Linked DNA regions of Homo sapiens: region 1 is linked to region 2. The links are contacts of gene promoters, found by promoter capture Hi-C in human tissues and cell types (Jung and others, 2019). All regions are on one chromosome and are shown on one strand. The core of a region is centred on a gene start or on the middle of the fragment in contact, and the rest is flanking DNA. Distances in the headings are between cores, read along the strand shown.

Evidence for each region. Contacts are between HindIII fragments. The study calls those that stand out against the background at their distance.
Region 1: a fragment that was not itself captured here is called in contact with the fragment with the promoter of SYCE3 in region 2 in 7 of the 25 tissues and cell types used here (H1 embryonic stem cells, dorsolateral prefrontal cortex, hippocampus and 4 more).

Annotation. Positions count from the first base shown.
Region 1 is chr22:50,429,346-50,434,730 of GRCh38, forward strand. PPP6R2 (protein phosphatase 6 regulatory subunit 2) reads left to right here. Exons shown (of 24, transcript NM_001242898.2): 11 at 1,828-2,037; 12 at 2,920-2,984. Among named protein-coding and RNA genes, the nearest start is that of MIR12114, 25 kb to the left of the region's middle. The HindIII fragment of the contact is 9,141 bases long and covers 1-5,385 here.
Region 2 is chr22:50,560,273-50,565,861 of GRCh38, forward strand. SYCE3 (synaptonemal complex central element protein 3) reads right to left here and starts at 2,647. Exons shown (of 3, transcript NM_001123225.3): 1 at 2,586-2,647. LOC107985568 (a long non-coding RNA gene) reads left to right here and starts at 2,689. Exons shown (of 2, transcript XR_001755606.3): 1 at 2,689-3,295. RefSeq lists silencers at 1,070-1,268, 2,339-2,748. The HindIII fragment of the contact is 12,147 bases long and covers 1-5,589 here.

The sequences.
Region 1 (5,385 bases), core at 1,624-4,123, 130 kb before region 2:
TCAGATTTTTTTTGTATGAGTTGAGATGATCATTTGGCTTTCGTCCTTTATCCTGTTAATGTGGTGTATTGATTGATTTTCATACGTCGATCCATCCTTGCATTTGAGGAGCAAATCCCACTTTATCCTGGTATATAATTCTTTTGATATGATGCTAAGTTTGGTTTGCTAGTATTTTGCATCCATGTTGATAAGGAACATTGGTTTGTAGTTTTCTTTTCTTGTAGTGTCCTCATTCAGCTTTGGTATCAGAGGTAATTCTGTCCTCACAGAATGAATTAGAAAGTATTCTCTCTTAGTTTTTTGGAAGAGTTTGAGAAGGATTAGTGTTAACTCTTCTTTAAATGTTTGGTAGACCTCATCGCCAGGAAAGGAAAAACAAACAACAAAATAAATGTTTGGTAGAATTTACCAGCAAAGCCATCTGGTACGGGCTTTTTGTTGAGAGGTAGGTCTGACTCCATGTTACAGATGAGGTGACACAGGAAAGCCTCCTCCAAGGTTGCTCAAGGTCACATGGGCAGAGAAGGTGAAGCCAGGATTTAGGACTACGTTTCTGTGGAGAACATGAAGCAAATGAGCCTCCTGCCTTTCTCTAGCTCCAACCCCACTGTGTGGAACGAGGAGCCCAAGCTCGAATCCTGGTGTGGAATATACACCTCACCCCATTCCCCTCTCCATACAGTCCTCCTTCTCCATGGAGGCAGAAGAGGGTCTGGGACACAGGCTGCCGTGGCCCTGGAATGTAAGAGACGGCAGTGGGGGGCGAGTGCGTCAGACCTATGTCCCCCTCTCTGTCCTCATCTGGAAGAAGCTACATGGGAGGTGAGAGATGGCAGCTGTCCTCGTTCAGCCACCTCTGTCCCCCAGGGGAGTATCTAGGTGGCCAGAACCACCTCTGGGCTTCAGCCCATGCTGGTTAAGTCTGGGCTCCCTTGGGGAGTGTCTGAATGTGCCCCTCACAGTCTCACGTTTGTGTGGTGGACGATATGCACACGCCTGCCCATCCTGGGTGGAATCCTCATGTGCTTGAGAGTCTAACACACTTCCAATAATTCATGAGAAAGACAGAATCATAAAGGAACTTCTCACATACTTAGAACTGAAGAATCATAAAAATACTACTTAGCAAAATGTGTAGAATGTAGTTAAAGTTGATTGTATACAGGGAAATGTAGCCTTTAAAGACAGACTGGAAAGAAAGGCTGCAATTAATGAGTTGAGCTTCCAACTGAAGGACAAAAGAAGCCAGGCCTGGTGACTTATGCCTGTCATCCCAGCACTTTGGGAGGCGGAGGCGGGCAGATCACCTGAGGTTGGAAGTTCAAGACCAGCCTGACCAACATGGCAAAATCCCGTCTCTACTAAAAATACAAAAATTAGCTGGGCATGGTGGTGGGCACCTGTAATCCCAGCTACCAGGGAGGCTGAGGCAGGAGAATCACTTGAACCCAGGAGGCAGGGGTTGCAGTGAGCCGAGATCGTGCCACTGCACTCTAGCCTGGGAGACAAAGCAAGACTCCGTCTCAAAAAAAAAAAAAAAAAAGAATAAACCCGCAGAAAGTAGAAAGGTGATGATTCAGATTGAAGCAGAGACCAACAGACACCCACAGGCAGGAGGCAGAAGTGCTCAGTGGCTATTTGAAGAAGCTCCGTAATAGAGAGATGACCCTCAGGAAAACGCTTAAAACTCCTTCCTAGCTACCCAGAGACTGGACTTGTGAGGAGTTAGGACGCCACCTTTAGGAAGGGTTTCCCTCAGCTTTGTGGTGTAGCCGGCAGGAGAAAACCGATCTAAGAACTGTCTTCTGTCCTCTGTTTACCCAGGACTTGTTCTTTAAGTACACCTGGAATAACTTTTTGCACTTCCAAGTGGAACTATGCATAGCCGCTATTCTCTCCCACGCTGCCCGTGAGGAGAGGACAGAAGCCAGCGGATCCGAGAGCAGGGTGGAGCCTCCGCATGAGAACGGGAACCGGAGCCTGGAGACTCCCCAGCCGGCCGCCAGCCTCCCTGACAACACAATGGTGACCCACGTGAGTCCAAGAAGCATCCATCTTATCAGCGCCAACTGCGCCCCACTCAGACCGTGTCCATGTCAGCGCTGACGTGTGCCGGACCTCACTGTGCAGCTGACACGGGGGCAGGGCTTTGAAAAGGGTCCCCAGGTGTCTGGTCAGACGCTCGTAGACAGTGGGGCTTGAGTGGGTCTTGCAGATCTCATTCCTACCTGCCTTCAGCAGGGGTACTGGTGCCTTCCACGTGCAGGCCTGGCAAGGGTTAGCACTGGATGAGATGAGTTCAGTCTGGCCTCCAGCTGGAGGCCCAGGGAATAAATGCCCAGGGAGCCAGCAGTGTCAGTGATGGGAGCCACACGGTGGGGAGGGGATGCTGAGGGACATGCAGGCCAACCAGGGACTGTCACCCGGATAGCAAGGCCACAGGTATATCGTAGTGTGAGGTGGAGCCCAGGAAAAACATCTCAGGTACAAGAAGTGATCTGTGTCAGGGCCTGGAGGTGAGAGAAAGTGCTGAGGGCAGACAGCCCTAGTCGTTCTTCCGGACACAGAGAAAGAGGGCAGGAGAGTGGCCAAAGTGGAGGGCAATGGAGAGACGGGGAGAAGGCCCAGGGGAAGACAGGGGTCAGGGGGCAATTCCAGGAGTTGGAGGAGAAGGGAGAGGGTCCTTTTCTCGGGCTTCATCTTTAGGGCGCTCAGCAGTATGAGCCCCGAACCGCACCCTCCTCTGGTGTTTGGTGAGGACCGCGGAGGCTGGGGCTGTGCGTGCGCAGCAGTCAGGGCCTGCAAAGTCCACACAGACGTGGCCGCCAGCCAGCCCTGCCCAGTCCAGGGATGGGTGGAGGGGTGCGTGCCGCCTTCAGACCCTGACTCACGCTGTCCCCCTGCCCCGCCCCCCAGCTGTTCCAGAAGTGCTGCCTGGTGCAGAGGATCCTGGAGGCCTGGGAAGCCAACGACCACACGCAGTAAGAGCCGCTCGGACGTGGAGGGACCCAGCCTGGCCAGTCAGGGATGCAGAGACGCACCTCACCCAAGCCCTGGTGACGCTGCGTGCAGGACTGCAGGATCGGGTGGAGTGTAGGGTGTGCGACGTGGCTCCACGTTCTGGGGCTGCTGTGCAAGGGGCCCTTCTACTGGGCGGACAGCTGCAAATGCTACTTGGGGAGGGGACACAGGGAGCCGACAGGAAGCGGTCCCGTCCCCACCAGGCACCTGCTCTGGCCCCCGCCCAGCCTGGCTTTGCCCTCTTGTGGGTCCGCTGTCCGTTCCTGATCTTCCCCAGGAACTCGGGCCCTCCGTCAGCACTCGCACACAGGGACGCGTTATTTTGGTCTTTCCATCTTCTGCTTAATGGGTGCTCCCTCTGGTCAGGACACATGTCCCGCTTATTGTCGTGGGCCCAGAGCCATCCCCACCCGTTTGCTGTCCTGCTGGGAACTGTCTGGCTCTGGGCGATATGAGGAGGGACTCCAGGGAGCTGGGAGGGGTCTGAGTGCAGCTGTGGGGAAGCAGAGGCCGAGCTGGGCTGTACAGCATGGAGGTCCCGCCCAACCCTCCCCTTGGGGTGCTGAGCCTGAGCTTGGTAGCTGGCAGCATGGGCTCACCTCCTGCGCCACTGCTGCCACCAGCGGGACTTAGGCCACGCCACGGCCTTTCTGCCTCCATTTCCCTGTCTGTAAAATGGAGTGAGAGCAGTGTCTGTTTCCTCATCTGTCTCAGTGGCACTTTTGGTAGTGAGGTTGGGGTGAGCCTGCTGCACGTGGCAGGTGCTACTCAAACAGAAGTGTCCTGGAGGAGGGCAGGGGGCGCGGACACTGGGCAGGGGCCGGGCATTTGCTCTGGAGGTGAACCTGGAGGAGGGCAGGGGGCGCGGACGCTGGGCAGGGGCCGGGCATTTGCTCTGGAGGTGAACCTGGAGGAGGGCCGGGGGCATGGATGCTGGGCAGGGGCCGGGCACTTGCCCTGGAGGTGAACCTGGAGGAGGGCTGGGGGCGCGGACGCTGGGCAGGGGCCGGGCATTTGCTCTGGAGGTGAACCTGGAGGAGGGCTGGGGGCATGGATGCTGGGCAGGGGCCGGGCACTTGCCCTGGAGGTGAACCTGGAGGAGGGCTGGGGGTGCGGACGCTGGGCAGGGGCCGGGCATTTGCTCTGGAGGTGAACCTGGAGGAGGGCTGGGGGCGCGGACGCTGGGCAGGGGCCGGGCATTTGCTCTGGAGGTGAACCTGGAGGAGGGCCGGGGGCATGGATGCTGGGCAGGGGCCGGGCATTTGCTCTGGAGGTGAACCTGGAGGAGGGCCGGGGGCATGGATGCTGGGCAGGGGCCGGGCATTTGCTCTGGAGGTGAACCTGGAGGAGGGCCGGGGGCGCGGACGCTGGGCAGGGGCCAGGCATTTGCCCTGGAGGTGAACCTGGAGGAGGGCCGGGGGCATGGATGCTGGGCAGGGGCCGGGCATTTGCCCTGGAGGTGAACCTGGAGGAGGGCCGGGGGCATGGATGCTGGGCAGGGGCCGGGCATTTGCTCTGGAGGTGAACCTGGAGGAGGGCCGGGGGCGCAGACGCTGGGCAGGGGCCGGGCATTTGCTCTGGAGGTGAACCTGGAGGAGGGCCGGGGGCATGGATGCTGGGCAGGGGCCGGGCATTTGCTCTGGAGGTGAACCTGGAGGAGGGCCGGGGGCGCGGACGCTGGGCAGGGGCCGGGCATTTGCCCTGGAGGTGAACCTGGAGGAGGGCCGGGGGCATGGATGCTGGGCAGGGGCCGGGCATTTGCTCTGGAGGTGAACCTGGAGGAGGGCCGGGGGCGCAGACGCTGGGCAGGGGCTGGGCATTTGCTCTGGAGGTGAACCTGGAGGAGGGCTGGGGGCATGGATGCTGGGCAGGGGCCGGGCACTTGCCCTGGAGGTGAACCTGGAGGAGGGCCGGGGGCATGGATGCTGGGCAGGGGCCGGGCATTTGCTCTGGAGGTGAACCTGGAGGAGGGCCGGGGGCATGGATGCTGGGCAGGGGCCGGGCATTTGCCCTGGAGGTGAACCTGGAGGAGGGCCGGGGGCGCGGACGCTGGGCAGGGGCCGGGCATTTGCTCTGGAGGTGAACCTGGAGGAGGGCCGGGGGATGGATGCTGGGCAGGGGCCGGGCATTTGCCCTGGAGGTGAACCTGGAGGAGGGCCGGGGGCGCGGACGCTGGGCAGGGGCCGGGCATTTGCCCTGGAGGTGAACCTGGAGGAGGGCCGGGGGCATGGATGCTGGGCAGGGGCCGGGCATTTGCTCTGGAGGAGGGCCGGGGGCATGGATGCTGGGCAGGGGCCGGGCACTTGCCCTGGAGGTGAACCTGGAGGAGGGCCGGGTGCGCGGACACTGGGCAGGGGCCGG
Region 2 (5,589 bases), core at 1,397-3,896:
AGAAATGCTTGAAGCCAGGAGTTTCAGACCAGCCCGGGCAACAGTCTCTACAAAAAAATTTAAAAATAGCTGGGTGTGGTGGTGCGCACCTCCAGTCCTAGTTACTCAGGAGGGTGAGGTGGGACAATTGTGCCACAGCACTCTAGACTAGGCTACAGAGGAAGATCTGGAAGATCCCCTCTGCAAAATGAAAAAAAGGGCTCAGTAAATTCAAGATATTTGATTTGGGTGTCACTGGTCAACTCGGTGAGACGTTTCAGGAGAGCCATAAAAGTAAAAATATTTCATGAATTAAATAATTAATGGATCATTAGACAAAATGGATTGTGTGTACAGATTTAGATGGGAAGGGGAGAAAAAAACAGGAGGTAACTAGAAGGTGATACAGAGTCAAGGTTTTTTGTTTTTTGAATTCTTCGTTTCTAGGCTGTGTGGAAAGAGCTACCTGGACAGAAAAGCCTGAAGAATCAGAAGAAAGGGCAACTGATGGTGCAGGGACTGGTCTCAGACAAGTAAGGGGTCATTTCACCCTATGAAGGTAAGGGAAGGTAAGGAGGTAGAGATAGAATAAGGTAGGTAGAGGTCAAGGTAGGATGGCAAGGGGGGGATTTCAGGCCCGATGGTCTCTAACTCCCTAATAAATGGCAATGAAAAGTTTCTTCTTGTAACAACAGACATTCTTGGTTTGAGGAGAACGATAAAGCTTTATCAAAGCTGCATGCCTCCCTAGGGGCACCTAGGCATGTGACTGAGGCCACATGGCCACAGTGTCCTCAGGACCCTAAGACGGCACAGAGACAGTGGATGGAGTGTAGAAGGCCTGGGAACGTAAACATACATGCAGTGGATGGACAAGGTAAGGACACTGAGAGCACAAGTATGAGAGTGGCTTAAGGGGTGGTTGATGGTTGGGGTGAAGCAGAGGCATAGAAAAGACATGTAGTTTCTATAAGTGGGGCGTTGGGGTGGCCACAGGTAGATTTGGGGATAGAGCATGAGACTGCTAGAAGGATGGAGGCTGGGCCGGAGTGGCACTGGATCTCAGAAGAGGGATGGATCTGAAAAGGAGATCCAGGGAGAGGGTGTGAGAGCTGATGTGGAGGAAGCAGCCACAGGATTAGAATTCACGGCATTTCTTGCCTAATGAGGTTGCCTGGGATGACTGGGAACGGGTGGAGAAAGAGGCCTGAGCCCGCACCAAAGCACAATGGAACGGAGCTTAGGATGGGTGGCGGAAGTGTGGGGCGGGAGGAGCGTGGGGCGGGAGGAGTGTGGGGCGGGAGCGTGGGGCGGGAGTGTAGGGTCTGGCTTGGGTATCACTTTAGGTGTGAAGGACGGGGGTTGAGCGAGTCAGAGCCTAGAGTCTGGTTTGTGGTCTGAGTGTCTTGCCTGGTACGAAGAGTTTCTAACAGAGTCTGGGATCCCTCTGAGAACAAGGAATGTGAGGGGATAAGAGGGATGCTTGGTGCAGAGATGTGCTCTTTTGTACGGGATGAGAGCAGCACAGGAAGGGAATGCACCTGTGATGTGGGAGAGAAGTCTTGGAGTTGGGCTATGAAGAGTCTGGGCGGGTCCTGAAGTGCAGGTGGAGGAAGCCAGAGGTGCGTGTGGGAACTTGGGGTGTGAGGTGGTGTGTGGACTCCGGGGTCCCAGGTGTGGCAGGTGTGAGGGTAAGAGGGGCAGGCTGCACGGAATGAGAAGCCCAGGGTGTGCAGACTTCAGGATCAGGAGTGTATGGTGTGAGGACATGGAGATTAGGTTAAGGGGGTGAAGGACTGAGGTGAGGGATGTAAGGTGGGGAGAGTGGGGTATGGAGTGTGCAGTGAGGGGAGCGGGGGAGGGGTGAGGCGGGGTGAGGCGGGGTGAGGAGGGGTGAGGGGTGAGGCGGGGTGAGGGGTGAGGCGGGGTGAGGGGTGAGGCTGGGTGAGGAGGCGGGTGAACGGTGACGTGAGCGATGAGGGGTGAGGGGCGAGGCGGGTGAGGCGGGGTAAGGAGGGGTGAGGCGGGGTGAGGGGTGAAGGGTGAGGCGGGGTGAGGGGTGAAGGGTGAGGCGGGGTGAGGGGTGAGGGGTGAGGCGGGGTGAGGGGTGAAGGGTGAGGCGGGGTGAGGGGTGAAGGGTGAGGCGGGGTGAGGGGTGAGGCGGGGTGAGGGGTGAGGCGGGGTGAGGGGTGAGGGGTGAGGCGGGGTGAGGAGGGGTGAGGGGTGAGGGGCGAGGCGGGTGAGGCGGGGTGAGGAGGGGTGAGGGGTGAGGCGGGATGAGGGGTGAGGGGTGAGGCGGGATGAGGGGTGAGGGGTGAGGCGGGGTGAGGGGTGAGGCGGGGTGAGGGGTGAGGGGCGAGGCTGGGTGAGGAGGCGGGTGAGCGGTGACGTGAGCGATGAGGGGTGAAGGGTGAGGCGGGGTGAGGGGCGTCGGGGGAGGGGCATGGGGTGTGGAGTGAGTGGAGTCGGGTGAGTGGAGTTGGGTCGAAGTCAAGGGTCTGGCTTGAGGTTGGTGCCACCGCGAACGCTAGGACAGGGTCAGGCGGAGCCCAGCCGTCAGGGCGCGTTGGGAGGGCCGGGGCCCAGGGGGGCGCGGCCTCGCTCACCTCCAGCTTGGCCCGCGCTCCGGTCCTGCTCTGGCGCCCCCAGCGGCCGCTTGAGGAACAAGGCCGCTCCTCGAGAGGGATGCCCCGCCCTTTCCGTTAGCGAACCCTCCCCGGAAGTGACCTCTCGCCCTCATTGGGTGTCCTCGGGAAAAGGGGCGGGGCATTCCGCGCTGCTCCCACAGGTCTGCGGCGTCCGAGTCTGGGACTGGCAGGTGCGGTGCTGGGGACGTCCTGAGGTTGAGGGAGAATCCTGCGGAGATGAAGAGCTTCCCGGCCTGACAGTTTTGCCCCCACCTCCTTCTTGAGCTTAAGGATTTATACGCAGGGCCCCGTTTGCCTGCTGTGTCCCCAGTGTCCAGGACAGCGCCCGGTACCAAAGGTGCTGGTAAACATTTGTCGAATGAGTCGCTGAACGCCCAGCTATTTCCACTGTCACAGCGATCATGTGTGGCGGACATTATGTGGCATGTATCTTACAGAGGAGGCAGCCCGGGCTCAGGGAGACGAGGCAGAGGTGCACGCAGGTCTATGTGGGCTGGAAAGTGCTGGGGCCTCCCGGGCGCTCCTGGTCTCCAGGCAAGAACTGGAAGCAGAGCCACTCAACACCTAGAAGGGCAGTGACAGAAAGCTCTGGCTGGGAGGAGGCTGACCAGAGGCCAGTCTGAGCTCAGCCTTTTTTTTCAGAGGGACGTGGGCACCCTAGAAGGGTGGTAAGTAGGCGAGTGGCAGAGTTAAAAGGTCTCTGGCTGCCGAGGCGGGTGGCGACGGGGCCGGCCGTTGCTGTTGTTTGGCTGAGTGGTGGACAGGGTCAAAGCCATTCCAAGGTCGACTTGACAGGGCTTGGTAATGTGGGAGGGAGGGAGAAAGAAGCAAGGGGCTAATGGCCGGGGTGATACCACTGGCAGAGATGTGGAAGAGTGGGAGAAGCTAGCTTGGAAGGTTAACTTTGATTTTGAACACCTTGTGTTTGAGAATCCTGACAAACCTTAGACCCCCTGAATTTTCTCTCAGGGATTCTGATTCTTAGCAGCCTGATTGCAGAGGAGGAAAAATGGCTGGGGTTGAGCCAGACAGTTCTGGGCAAGGAGTGAGCATTCGCTTGTTTATTGAGGAGGCTGCTGCCTGGGCCACACTCCCTCCGCCAGCTGCCAGGTTCCTGCCCCGGTTGAACCCGGTTTTCTGGCCATCCCTTTCCACCTGTGAGCTGCTCTTCATACTTCCATTTGCTTATACAGCCCAGAGCCGATTTCTGTTACAGCAGCCCAGAGAAACATGAATAGGGAATAATTCTTTTTTTTTTTTTTTGAGACGGAGTCTTGCTCTGTTGCCCAGGCTGGAGTGCAGTGGCACGATCTCGGCTCACTGCAACCTCCGCCTCCCAGGTTCAAGTGATTCTCCTGCCTCAGCCTCCCTAGTAGCTGGGATTACAAGCACATGCCACAACGCCCAGCTAGTTTTTGTATTTTTAGTAGAGACCGGGTTTCGCTATGTTGGCCAGGCTGGTCTCGAACTCCTGTCCTCAGGTGATCCACCCGCCTCGGACTCCCAAAGTGCTGGGATTACAGGTGTGAGCCACTGTGCTTGGCCCGAATCAGGAATAATTCTGATGGCTAAGGAAGACAGCTTCCGAGAGAGTAGGAGAAAGGGCACAGGATTCCAGGCAGAAGGCCCATCTAGGGCAAAGGCGAAGGTGTGGCTCAGCCTGCCTCCTTTGGGGAATGGCGAGTGTGTTCTGGGCTCAGGGTTCTTGGTAAGGGACAGAGAAGACTCGGGAAAGATCAGTTGAGCTGGAATGTGCAGGCTCTTGAGTACCCTGCTCAGGAGCTGGAGGTGGGCTACCCTGCAAACTCCAGGCCATGAAGCCCAGGAAGATGTCAGGCTGGTCTTCCCATGCCCTTGTGTATCTGAGACCAACTGTCACTAAATGTTTCCTTTACGCCCTGGACACACAGCTAGACTCTACTTCTCAGATTCTCTTGAAATACAAGTCTTTAGCCAGAGGGTGTGGAGGGAAATGCTGTGTATCACTTTGAGGTTGAGGCCATCAAAGCCTCCCACAGGTGGCCCCCTCTTTCTCTCCCCACGTACTTATGATGTTGATGCCCAAGGCAGCTTGAGTACTACCTGCTGAAGGCAGGGCCTCTGTCACCATAGATCCTTGAATAACAGTATGGAGCAGAGCCCTCATCTCAGCCAACTGGATTTTATCTGACCAACAGTCCAGCTTCTATTGGGTTGAGCCATGAGGTTTCAGGATTTATGTTATGGCTGCTAGCTTTTATTAATGCAGACCTGCAGACCTATGGGACATGGGGAACTAATTGGGGTTTGGGTTGTCATCAGAGGTTTATTTATTTTTTTAAGACAGGGTGTTGCTCTGTCACCTAGGCTGGAATGCAGTGGGTCAATCATGGCTCACTGCAGCCTCAATCTCTCAGGCTCAAGTAATCCTCCCAACTCAGCCTCCAGAGTAGCTGGGGCCACAGGCAAGTGCCACCACGCCTGGCTAATTTTTTTTTTTTAATTTTGTAGAGATGGGGTCTCACTGCACCACCCAGGCTGGTCTCGAACTCCTGGGCTCAAGACCTCCCAAAGCACAGGCATTACAGGCGTGAGCTACCATGCCCAGCAGTCTCCAGAGGTTTATACCCTGGTTTACCACTGTTGTTCCTCATCTCACTATTTTAACCCAGAACAAATGAGATAAAAGAACTTTAATGCTGAATTTTGATGTTAATTGAAAGCTAGCTTGTTGGAAACTCTGTTTACTGCTATCTCAGGACGGGGTGAGCTGATGTCCCCAGAAGACTACCAAAACGCAGGCACCTTCCCAGGGGAGGCTTACTGGCACCCAAACAGGTAGAGGTCTCTGGAAATACTTTTGGAAGCTGAAGAACGCTCTGATATGGAATGTAACATTTTGCAGGCAGAGGTGTACTCTTTTTTTTTTTTTTTTTTTGAGACAGAGTCTCGGTCTCCCAGGCTGGAGTACAGTGGCACCATC